Linked DNA regions of Homo sapiens: region 2 is linked to region 1. The links are contacts of gene promoters, found by promoter capture Hi-C in human tissues and cell types (Jung and others, 2019). All regions are on one chromosome and are shown on one strand. Each heading gives the region's core, a stretch centred on a gene start or on the middle of the fragment in contact. The rest is flanking DNA. Distances are from core to core; before and after follow the strand shown. Region 1 holds the start of PPP1R2 (protein phosphatase 1 regulatory inhibitor subunit 2). Region 2 overlaps LOC105374294 (a long non-coding RNA gene).

Region 1 (6,434 bases), core at 1,610-4,109:
TAAAAGTGTCCCCTCTCCTCCTCCAAATATGTTGTGTTGGGTCAGGCAACCATGATAATGAAGTCTTCAAAAAGAGAGCAGAGATAAATGCCAGATTATCCTTAAATCATGTATATATCTTTAAATATATGATTTGCCTTGAGCTCAATAGCTACTTCCAGAAACTGAAACCAGAATGAAAGATTCTATCTACAATTCACCTCCTGGCAGCCAAACCCTCAACACACAGGAAATGTAACAGCAATACAGCTAAATTCAGTGCTCGGGCTGTTTGGTCCAGATAACTTCCTACAGGAGCAAACCTCAGCAGAGGCACAGAAGGAGAGCTCTGTTTAGAGGCATTTGAAAATCTTATTTGGGCCACACTGAGGAATAAAGTAGTTCAACTATTCTGAAAGATAAGGAAAAGCAGGCCATGTGTGGTGGCTCATGCCTATAATCCCAGCACTTTGGGAGGCTGAGGCGGGCAGATCACCTGAGGTCAGAAGTTTGAGACAAGCCTGGCCAACATGATGAAACCCCATCTCTACTAAAAATACAAAAATTAGCTGGGTGTGGTGGCAGGCACCTGTAGTCCCAGCTACTCGGGAGGCTGAGGCAGGAGAATCACTTGAACCCAGGAGGCAGAGGTTGCAGTGAGTGGAGATTGTGCCATTGCATTCCAGCCTGGGCGACAGAGCAAGACTTTGTCTCAAAAAAAAAAAAAAAAAAAGCAGTACTGGCCCTCACAATTTTACAAACTATTTTTTTTTAAGTGCTACCAAAGTCATCTTCATCTGCATTCATTTGTTGTGGGTTTGGGAGTGGAAGAACCAGTACAGGAGACAAAAGTTTAACTCTTGATGAGGGAAATATGTTTCCAAGGTTCTTCAGAGAACTCTTCATCACCTCCTGTTCCAATGTTTGTTAGTTAATTAACTAATAAAACACTTTATGTCATACGATCGTAGTCCCTTTCATTAGAGGGTCTGAAAGCAAGCTGTTGCTTAATCAAGGGCCCAGTCACAGTTGAGTTCAGGGATGCTGAACTCAGTGATGCTTCCCAGCCCAAGCAGGAACAAAGCAAATCTGCCCAATAATTTGGAACATACAGGGAAGTTTGTGTATTCCCTTGAAAACAGGATTGCCATCACTGACCTAGACTCCTGCTGACAGGGCAGGAGACGCAACACAGGTGTTGAACACTGGGGTGGAAAGAACTCAGGAAGGGAAGGGAGGTGGCCATCCTGCTTCCCCTCGCTGAGAACCCTCTCTCTCTGCTCCATGGGCTGGACAGGGCTGTCAGGGTGTAATGTTAGATCCACTGAGCAGTCCTGGCCTGGGAGGGAGAGACGGCACCAGTGGATATTTGACTGGGAACAAAGGTGGGGACAGTGCCAACAGTGACTGTGCAGGCCCCTGGCTGAGGCAAATCCCTGGGGAACACATTCCACTCTGTGACCAGCAACCCTGTTTCCCTTCTCCCCTTCCAGCTCACTTCCCCTCCATTATCTCCATCCACATCCATTCCCATACTGAGGCCCTGTTCTGTGCCAGGAACTCATCTAGGAGCTAGGGGCTCGGGGCCAGACGATAAAAACAATCGTTTTCAGAACCCTACAGTCATCCCTGAGGGGCAGAGTCCTAAGGACACAGAACAGGGTCATCCTCAAAAGGCACAGAGCCTGTGTTAAAGAAGATGAGACTGTGGTCCAGAGATGAGCCATGGGAGTGAAACTGCTGCTATAGGGGCTAGATAGGGGAAAACGCTTCCTCTCACCCCCCACAGCAGTGGACAGACATTGCTGGGAGCGAGGTGTCAGCTCAATCTAAGAACTCCCAGAGTCAGAGCTGTCCAAAAACAAAATGAGTTACACGGGGGTGTGGCGGGCTTCTAGCCCCTGGGGTTGTTGGAGAAACAGGCTGAATAGCCACCTTATGGGCCTGCTTGACAAGGTCCCTTCCAGGACCAGTGGTCTGTGAATCCGCAGGGGCTGGTCCACCGGAGGGGCCAGTTCTGGGTGGCTCAGTCTGCTGTGCTCTAACCTGTGGTGAGGACGATAAAAAGGCCTGATCAAGAAAGAGTCATGGAAAAGAGCCTGGTGATGAGCGAGCTGCGGACTGGACTTGGGAGAGGGAGGGAAGGGAGTGTACAGGGACCATAACAAATACCACACACGAGGTGGCTTTAAGCAATGGAAATGGGCTCTCCGTTCTGCAGGCTTGAAGTCCACATCAACCTGCGGCAGAGTTGGTTCCCTCTGTGGGGGGAACCTGTCGCGGCCTCTGCGGGCCCAGGAGGTCCTTGGCTGGGAGATGTGTCCCTGCCGCCCTCCCGTCTCCTGCGCTCTCTGCCTAGACGGGTTGTGCGACGGCGGGGGTCGCTGCCCGTCTGTCCGTCGGCTTCTCCAGCGGTAAAAGGAGGTGAGGCGATTCCAATGCAGACATTCTATGATTTCATAATAGGCCTCTAAGGACCACTCCAATGCTGGCAGTCCATGCTTTTATAATAGGCAGTTCGGCTGTTTACACGGGCGAAATGGAAAGAGGAGATACCCGTTTTCTTCAAGTCAGCTAACCTCTCTGCGGAGTGACGTCACCTCGAGTCTCAGTCTGCTGATCTAAAAAATAAAAATAACACTACGGCCTCACAAGGTGGTGGGACGAGGGTGCTCGAGAGACGCGCGGGTCCGGGAAGCAGCAAGCCCGGGCGCTCTCCCGCAGGTTCTCAGAGACAGCTCCCGCCTCCCAGCGCCGCGCGGGGGCGGGGCGAGCAGCCCGGGCGGGACGGAGGGGGCGGGGCGAGGAGGTCGGCTTTGTTCTCGCCCCGCCCTCTCCCCGCCTCCTCCCTAGATATCGCGAGAGGGCGGGTCCGCTTGGCTTCGGCGTCGCGTCGCTCCTGCGCTGGAGCTCTAGGCCGGCGTCTCTCCGCGAGCCGCGGGTCAAGTGCCAGTGGCTAAGGGTGCGCGAGTAGCCGCCACCCGTTCGGCGTTGGCTCTGGCGTCGGGGTCGTTGTGTCGTGACAACCGCTGCGGTAGCCGTTTCCGAGGCAGCAGTTGCGGCCGCTTTAGCCCTGAGCGGGATCTGCGGCTGCCTGCGAGTCTCTGCTGTGCCGACCCTTCTCTTCGCGGACCCCACGCCAAGCAGCGACCCTGAGCCGACAGCCGGAGCGCCCGGCAATGGCGGCCTCGACGGCCTCGCACCGGCCCATCAAGGGGATCTTGAAGAACAAGACCTCTACGACTTCCTCTATGGTGGCGTCGGCCGAACAGCCCCGCGGGAATGTCGACGAGGAGCTGAGGTGAGCGCTGGGAGGGACGGCCTGGGAGCCCCTCCTTCCCGCCGGGCCCGTTACCTACCCAGACCCCAGGGGCGGGCGGGCGGCGTGGATGCGGCTCGGGTGCCGCTCGAGTCTCTTCTCCTGCCCGGCTAGCCGCGGGTGGGAGCGATCTTTAAGAAGGCTGGGCGATGACGTTTATCATGCTTCCTTTTTTTTTTTTAAGCATTTGGGCATATATAATATTTTTAAACATCATCTTTGAACTTTCTGTAATCGGGAACATCAAAGAATGAAATTGAAGCTTCAGATCTTCGACTGTTAAGCTTTTACTATTTCTTAACCTCATCTCTGAGGTATCTAAAATTCTTCGATAATTACAGTGTATTTTCTTGCTTTGGGAACCCTTTAAGATCTAGTCTCAAGCTAATAGGCGATCCGTCAAAGAAGAGACCATTTCCCCCATTAGCATTGTGCCACACTGTATTTCTGCATCTGCAACCAGAGTTTTGGGTGCTTTCTAGTTTTTGTTCCTGTTCAGAGATAGATCTAAGCTCAAAACAGTTCAAAGAGGAGCAACTTGAAATGACCCAGTGGTAATTTAGTTGCTCTTGCATACGCTAAAGATACACATGTAAAAAGTTGTTGACCTGAGCATTGTATGTAATATTTATAATATAATTGGAAACGACCGGAAGTCCATTAGTAAGAGCTGGTGAAATATTAATTACGGTACGTTTGTATAATGGAACAATATACTAGCCTTTAAAAAAAGAAAGGTAGGCGTTTATGCACGGAGAAAATGTTGCAGTACAGTATCTGTAGTGGGTTAGAAGTGCACGGGGGCTTGGGCGTTGCAAGATACTAAAAATAGAAGGACTCTACTTTCTGAAAATAAGGCTTAAGAAAAGTTACCATTGAAATTGGTAGTCAGAAGCTAAAATGAGGATGTTTGTGAAATCTCAGAATATAGGAACCTAGGGCATTCCTGGATAAAGGATCTTATTTAGGACCATAAAAGGAACTACTGCTTGGTGGTGGTAAATTTTAGGGATTTGTGTTACCTTGAAGGAAATATTGAGTAGGTTCATAGGTTAGAATCGTGGCCTTTTGGGGCTGGAAAGGACCTTAGTTTTTGTCTAGCAACTCCCACGCTCATGGATGCTTGAATCTTACATTCTCTCACACACAATTTTCCAACTTCTTTGGGCTAAGCCACGTTAAATGGAGTGCTGGGGGAGTGTGATGTGTAGGTCATGGAATTAAGAAGACAGAATTTCACCAGAACATAACTGAAGCAGGAGAACCAAGTTAGTTAAAAGATAAATAACATCCAGGCGTGGTGGCTCACGCCTGTAATCTCAGCACTTGGAGAGGCCAAGGTGGGAGGATTGCTTGATCCCAGGAGTTTGAGACCAGCCTGGGCAACATAATGAGACCTCATCTCTTAAAAAAAAAAAAAAAAAAAAAAAGGAAAGAAAAGAAAAGGAATTAAAAGATAAGTAACGTAACTACAGAAGGCTCAAATGTAGCTTCAGGGTTTTCAGCAGCAGGAATGTGGTCCTTACTGGCATTTATGTTATTTAGCTGTTCTCCAGTGTGAGTTTCTTTTGGTCCATTTACCAAGTGAGTTACTCTTTATCTCTGCTTCTTTAGTTTCTGTTTATTCTTAACTTGGATCTGCTGTAATTTCCCGTGGGCCCAATCTATGGATTGGCCTCTTTCTTTCTGTAATTGGTTGGGATTTACATTCAGGTCTTTCTGCCTCAAAAGCCACTATACTAGACTGACTCAACTGCATAGGGCTGCCTCTTCTGTAGTATCTGTGGCAGGGTAGATTCACTTAAAAGGGACTGACCTGTCGAGTTAGAGTTACAGTCCTGTCTTTAAAGAGAACTATCAAACCCTAATTCATTGAAGTTCATGATGTTTGGTTCCAAGTGGTAAAAAGGATGGGTTTTTTAATGATCCTTGTTATGTGACTGTAAAGCAAATAAACTAATTCTACTAGTAATACAATATAGTCTTAGTCTGTTTTCTGTTGGTCATAACAGAATGTCTGAAATGATAATTTATAAGAAACTGAATTTATTTCTTACGGTTCTGGAGGCTTGGAAGTCCAGGGTCTTAAGGGTGCATCTGGTGAGAGCGTTTTTGCTGGTGGGGACTCTGTGGAGTTCCAAGGTGGTGCAGGGCATCACATGGCAAGGAAGCTGAGCGTGCCAGCTCAGGTCTCTCTTCCTCTTCTTATAAAGCCACCAGAACCACTCACTTGATAACCCATTAATCCGTGAATAGATTAATCCATTCATCAGAGCAGAGCCCTCATGACCCAGTCACCTTTTAAAAGCTGTGCCTCTCCACACTGCCACATTGGAGATCAAGTTTCAACGTGAGTTTCAGAGAGGACAAACGTTCAAACCATACCAAATATACATTATTATTTGTCACAAGTCATGCAAACTTTATGAGATCCTCTTTGAACAGAAACAATAAATATACAGTTGGCCCCCTCCACAAATTCAGCCAATACCAAATAGCCCTTTACACTTGGGAGCCATTTTACACACCAGATTCACCAACAAAAATGCAGGAAAGGACCCTAAATAGGCCACGAAAAGGACACTTGTTTACAGTACAAGAGCTGAAACAAGAAAGCAGAGCGTCGCCTTGTTTGACCCCATCTGGGAACATGCTACCTCGGCTGTGAACGGTGCACTGGGCAACTCAGAATCTGCCCTGCTCTGTGGCTGTCTGTGAGCAACTGCTAACGGACCTCAAATGCTAGTTTTGGGATTACACATTTTAGCAAGTAGGTAAACTTGCAAAGAAAGAATCAGAGAATAATGAGAATGAACCCTACCTTTTATAGGTGTCTTCGTTGTGTAAAATGCGATGATAGTTTGACTCCTACCCATCCCCCAGTTGTGAGAGGATGTTATTTTACGTAAATATTACCAAGGAATTTTTAAAAATAGAATTCAAACATACTTCAGATATATGTCTGTAATTCATATATGGATGTACTACTATCATTAGATAATTCTCAAAACTCAATGTCCACTTAAAGTGAGGTTTATATAAAGCCATATTCAGATAGTCTAGCATTTCTATTTTTTTATCCAATTGTCAGGACCGATCAAACCATCATTGAGGGGGGTTTTATTTTTTTAGATGA
Region 2 (6,434 bases), core at 1,341-3,840, 560 kb after region 1:
GCCGGCTGTTGGCTGGGGAGGGAGACAACGAGCTCCCAGGAACAGGAAGCCCGCAGGAAGCGGACAGGGAGCAAATAGGAAGAGCAAGTCCTGCCTCCCGCACCAGCCTGGAGGTGCCGCTCTAGCGCCCGGGCTGCAGAGCCTACACAGACCCGGCTGGCAGAGCGGAGCCGCGGGCAGAGTCCCAGCTCCAGCATCACCAGTTGGCGCCCAGAGGACGGGCGTGGAGCATAGAGGTCGTGACTGAAAAGCGGCCCCAGAGGTCTCCCTGCAGGCCTTCTGGTGGGTGCGGGAGTCCGTGCGACAGCCATCTCCCTCGGGAGGCTGGCAACTTCTTGAGGTCAGGGACGTGCTGGCTTCGCTGTGCATCCTCCACGGGGCCTGATATCCTTCCCCAGGCAGAGCAGGCCGTCGTAAGCAGGTGTTATGCTGAAATGAGCTGCATGGCAGGAGCCCTTGTCAGGCAAGGTGTCCTGGGCAGCTCCGCAGCCCTCCCTGCCCAGCCCTCAGAGTTCCTGTGTGTTTTCCCGGGGCGTGGTTCCAGGCTTTCCCTGGAGTCCCGCATGGGGCCAGGGTGGGGGTGTTGAACACTGGACCTTGAACACAACTGGGGCAGGCTCTGCCCAGACCTGGCAGATGCACCCTAAACTTCCTTCTCATCCTCCTCCACCTGCAAATGAAGTCAACAGCAGGATCTTAGCTCCACCAGTTACAGACTGTCTGGCTTTGGGCAGGTTATTGGGCCATTCTGAGCCTCAGTTTCCCCAGAATGCCCTCTTCAGTCTCTTAATCCCTGCACCGGGAGACAGGAAGAGACTCTTGGCCCTCTTCATCCCATCCATTCCTCTCCCCTGTCTCCTGCTCCTTACTGGAGTGTGATTTTAACACAACACATCATAATTATGCTTTGAAAGGCAGTCAGTATTAGCAAGGCAGATATCTGTTTAGCTGGAAAAAAAGGAAAGATCCAGGTCAGCTGGGACTTGCTGAGCAGAGCTCATGGACAGCTGCAGGCGAGGCAGGGGGAGCAAAGGGGTAGAGAAGGCGAGGGAGGACAGGGGCTCTGCAACAACCTGAAGGAAGCAGGAGACCAGGTGGGCCCCATGCCCTGGGCTCCTGTGAATTCCAGAGCAGCTGAGCATTTAGACAGGAATCCTCAGGAGAAGGCTGGAGCCCCCCAGCCTCCAGCTGCATCAGGGCAGGACAGCAGGGCGACAGGCCCAGTGGGGTAAGGGACACAAAAGTGTTTATGGACCATGTGGGAATGGGATTAGGCCAGTGCTCAGTAAAGTAGAGGCTCTGATGAGATTTTATGGGCCATATCAAAGGTTTTTGTATAAGTTTTTCTCCCTCTTCCATCTCAAGTTCTTTCATGGCAGGTACTGGGTCTGAGTTTTCTCTGATGGTGCCCAGAGAGTATGTTGGGTGTATCTGGGGACCACACTCAAGTCTGGGTGAGTGTTTGGAGGGGCTTCTGGCAGCGTGGCCTATGCTACTGGAGAGCCATGGGTCTGTAAGCTCAGACAATGGTGTGAGCAGTGGCAGATGTGACATTTCCCAGCCAGGAGCCCTGGCAGGCAGGCAGAGGGGATCAAAGCACAGGGACCTCATTTTCAGCCAGAGAAGGGATTAATGAAGAGCCCAGTGTCCCAAAGGGAGGCTAATTGGGTTCCGAAGAGTGGTAAGTGTTCCTGGGCTCACTTGGCATGGTCCTACCCTCTGAGCCCTGTTTCCTCAAGAATTTAATTTAATGTCCCTTTGTTGAACGCAGCTGTTGGGGGAGGAGTGATTTGGGCTGTTTGGGCTGTTTTGTTTTCCTCCCTCTTTCTTTTCCATCTTTCCCTCCTTTCTTCTCTTGTGGGAAGATGCCAGTGCTTGGTGAACTGGCTGGTTGGGGTGTCCAGACCAACCTTCTCTGAGCAGGCCTTGAGCACAGAAAGCCCTGGGCTCCCTCCGTCTGCTCAGCAGCCCAGCCATCTGCCTTGCTCAGTCCCTGTGGAGACGTTTGCTGGGGCTGCCTTTCCTTGGAACTGGTGGGTGGGGTCTGGCAGGTGGAGAGATACCAGAGCCCAGGCTTCTAATGCTTTTTTTCTGGGATCCTGACATACAGCAGAGACTGGACATACCTCCCCTTCTTCCCTGCTTGATAACCATCCCTGCTGGGCCTCCCAACTTGAAAGGTGGGACCACAGTACTTGTAGAGAAGGACAGCTCTGGAGTTGGCCTGCCTGTGTCTGAATCCTGACTCTGTGTCACCCTGGGCAAGTCATTTAACTTCTTCAAACCTCAGTTTTTGCTCCTGTGAATTAACTAACCCAAAGAGATATTGTGAGTCTTACGTGAGACAACCAGGGTGAAAGTTCAGCACAGGGCCTGGGATATGGTAAGCATGGTGTAAGGATTATAAGCTTTTATTAGTAGGAGAGCATGTTGGTTTCCCATGGCTGTTTTAACGAATTACCATAAACTTATTCCCTCCCAGTTCTGGAGCTCAGAAGTTCAAAATCATAGACAGCCATGCTCCTCTGAAAGCTTTAGGGGATAATTTGTTTCTTGTTTCTTCCAGTTTCTGGTGGCTGCTGGCATTCCTTGGTTTGTGGCCTCATCACTCCAATCTTCAAGGCCAGCATCTTTGAATTTCTCCCTGATCCATCGTCACATGGCCTTCTCATCTGTGTGTGTGGTCAAATCTCCCTCTGCCTCACTCTGATAAGGATAAATGTGTGTGCCTTTAGGGCGTATCCAGATAACCCTCCGTCCCAAGATCCTTAATTTACTCTCATCTGCAAAGACCCCTTTGTTTTGCCATACAATGTAAAATTCACAGGTCACATGGATTAGAATACTGATTTTTTGTGGGGGCAGGAGTCATTTTTCAGCCTACCAAAGATGGAGCAAAGAATTGGAGTGAGGGGGAGACGCTTGAGTGCCTCATCGTCTTAGGACAGGCTCTCTAGTAGCAGACCGTGGGATGAGGTTCACTGTGCACACAGTTTATCAGGGAAGCGCTCCCAGGAGAAACTGGCAAGACAATGGGAGATGCAGGTCAGAGAAGGGGAAGAAACTCAGTAGGGTGAGATTTGAAGTCCCAGCCTGCTCTGGTTTGAATGTGCCCCCTAAAAGTTCATGTGTTACAAACTTCATTGCCAATGTAACAGTATTAAGACGTGGGGCCTTTAAGAGATCCTTGGATCACAAGAGTGGAGCCCTCCTGCATGGATTACTGCCATTATCATGGGAGTGAATTAGTTCTCTAGGGAGGAAGTTACTTCTCACGAGAGTGGGTTGTTATAAAATGAGCTCAGCTCACTTTTGCAGTCTTTTTCATATGTGCTTGCTTGCTCTCTCTCTGTATAATGCCTTCCCCAATGTTATGATGAGCAAGAAAACCCTCACCAGGTGCTGATGCCATGCCCTTGGACTTCCCAGCCTCCAAGACCATGAGCCAAATAACCTTTTGGTCTTTATAAATTACCCAGTATCAGTCATTCTATTAAAGCAACAGAAAATGGTCTAAAACACAGCATCATATTAATCCCACAGAGAGCTTTAAAAAAGGAAATTCACTGATGAAATTGAATCTCACTTTTATCACTACCCATTCCTATTTCCCTCCTTTCCTTTCCAGAGGAAGTTATTGTCATAAATTTGGTATGTGCCTTCTTGTCCACTTAAAAAATGCTTATAATATATATTTGTGTCCCTAATCATGTAAAGTATTATCTTCCACATTTAAAAAATTTATGTAATAAATTTATGTAATAAATAATCTTTCTCTCTCTCTATATATATGTCACTTTGATTTTTTCACTCATTACGGGGCTTAGAAGATCTGTTCATGTCAAGATACGCAGATATAGTTCATTGCTTTTCACTGCTGCTAATTAATATGTACCACTTTTACTTTAGATGAAAATTTAGGTTGTTTAAAAATGTTTTCATTATTACAAGGCTGAGGTGTTTTCTTACCCTCATAGAAGAGTTTCTCTAGGGTTGATGCCTTGGGAATTTTTTCGGTCATAAAATGTGTGCATTTTTCAATGTTAATAATAACTGCAAAGCTGTTCCCCAAATGGCTGTGCTAATTTATCCCCCACTAGCAGTGTTTCTGAAAGTTCCCATTTTCCTCATATTTTCACAAAGATTAGTATTTTCAGACTTTTAATTTTTTTCTAAAATATGGAGATTGACATGATATGAGAAGATTTCAACTTGTTTTCTGTGAGTGCTTCCATGAGTTGAGCGTCTTTTCATGTATTCATGACCACTTGGATTTCCTCTTCTGTGAATTACCCCTTTAAATCTCTTACCCTCTTTCTATTGGGTTGAGCGCCTTTTTCTTATTGAGTTGTAGAAGGTCTTTATATATTCTGAAGACTACCTTTTTGGTATTTCATATTGTAAACAACTTCTAATCTATCATTTTTTGTCATAAAGCATTTTGATTTTGATATAGACAAATCTATGAATTTTTAAACGGTTTGTTCTCTTATATCTTGAAAGCTTTTTATTACCTGATGTCATAAAGATTTTTTTTTAGTAGCTTAAAAGTTATATTTTTAATATATAGGCTTTAGCCAAACTGGAATTTATTTTTGTGCATGCTATGAGATAGGAACCTGATTTTATTCTTTTACATGGAAAGCCATTGTCCCAACACCAAGTATATCTATATATATGTAGTCTCTAAGCTCTCTGATCTATTAATTTGGTCTATTTTTTATTGCTCTATAAATATCACCCAGTTTTATTAGTATAGCTTTATAAGAATTGTTTATATCCTGTTGGTTAAGCCATATTCCCTAATCTCTTATTGTTCTTTAGAATTGCCTCGAATTTTCTTGATGGGATAGGTGAGATGAAACCTAGAAATCCTACAGTCAATTTTCTCCCAAAGGGAAGCCAGCCTAAAAGTAAAGCTGATACCATGGAAGGGAGAGCAGAGATAGGAAGATGCTCGGTCCTTAATGAGATTGTTGCTGAATCAAGCTACTCTGAAGCTGATCCTGCCTCTGCAACGTCTGTTTATCTAAACTAATAAATCTACTTTATTATTAACCAATTTGGTTGATTCTTCTGTACCCTGTAACCAAAGCTTTATAACGGATACCCCTGGTATATCTTTTTATGTCTATTTTCAAGCTCTGTCATTATGTTTAGTGCATTTCTTACAAACTGCATAATCTGGACATTGGAAGTGTACTCCGAGTGTCTATCTTTTAATAGGAAAAATTAATCCATTTACGATTTCTGTGATTACTGTGATGATTTGGATTTTTGTCTATCTTATTTTGCATTCTTCATGTATTGTTTCTTTGCCTTTCCCACTCCTTTTCTGTGGCTTTCTGTGAGACTGATTAGATTTTCTTCCCTCTTTTGCCCTCTACTGATTTGAAAATTATGCATGTGTTTCTGATCTTTCACTATTTTCCTAAAGCTTATAATATGCATACTTCACTGTGTATTTTTTGAACAAAGCCTGAAGTTAATCAACACTTTATCCTTCTCCTGAATAAAAACAGTAATTTTATACACTCAAAATTTCTTACTTACAACCTTTCACTGCTCACATTTTTTACTATTTCTATTATTTTAATTCCTCATGTTTTTAAATCTCCCAAATTGATGATGATGATGATGATGAGATGATGGTGATAATGATGATTCAATACTTATTTAGATCTTACTAATTTCTTTGTACACACTTACTGTTATGGGTTGAATTGTGTTTCTTCAAAATTCATATGTTGAAGCCCCAATAGCTCAGAATGTAACTGTATTGGGAGATAGGGTCTTTAAAATAAAGAGGTAATTAAGTTACAGTGAGGTGTTTAGAATGGGCCTTAATCCAATATGATGGATGTCCTTAAAAGAAGAAGAAATTTGGACACAGACACATGTCTGCAAAGAGAGGAAAGGCCGTGTGAGGACAGAGCAATAAGACCGGCGTCTGCGAGCCAGAGAGAGAGTCCTCAGAAACCAGAGCTGCTGACACCTTGACCCTGGGCATCCAGCCTCCAGAACTGGGAGAAAATAACTGTCTGCGGTTGAAGCCACCCACTCTGTGGTACTTGGTTATGGCAGCCCTAGCAAATTAATACACTTGTTTTTTTTTTTTTCCAGTCGTGCTTTTCTTCTGGGTTCACTTTCTATTTCCCCTCTGAATTGTTGACTAGTTCAAGTTCTTTCAGAGGGGATCTCTGGGCCTTAAACTATCTTAATATATCTAAACAAATATTTAGCTCACCTCTGTCTAGCTGATCCACCTGGCATATCTTGAACGCCAGTTTACTTGAATATAGAATTCAAGGAGCGAGTCTCAGTCCCTGGGTAATGTGGACTTAGCAGGTCCCATTCCACCAGCTCCTACCTCTCGGAGGAATGACTCTCTTCAGTCATTTCTTCAAAGGGACATGCTCAATAAACAAGAGCTC

Evidence for each region. Contacts are between HindIII fragments. The study calls those that stand out against the background at their distance.
Region 2: a fragment that was not itself captured here is called in contact with the fragment with the promoter of PPP1R2 in region 1 in 2 of the 25 tissues and cell types used here (heart right ventricle and thymus).

What each region holds. Positions count from the first base shown.
Region 1 is chr3:195,539,750-195,546,183 of GRCh38, reverse strand. PPP1R2 (protein phosphatase 1 regulatory inhibitor subunit 2) reads left to right here and starts at 2,859. Exons shown (of 6, transcript NM_006241.8): 1 at 2,859-3,280. The coding sequence starts at 3,159. RefSeq lists enhancers at 1-141, 5,781-5,890 and a silencer at 2,648-2,887. The HindIII fragment of the contact is 14,684 bases long and covers 1-5,583 here.
Region 2 is chr3:194,978,918-194,985,351 of GRCh38, reverse strand. LOC105374294 (a long non-coding RNA gene) reads left to right here. Exons shown (of 4, transcript XR_924873.2): 4 at 2,567-3,769. Among named protein-coding and RNA genes, the nearest start is that of XXYLT1-AS1, 110 kb to the left of the region's middle. The HindIII fragment of the contact is 5,353 bases long and covers 1-5,266 here.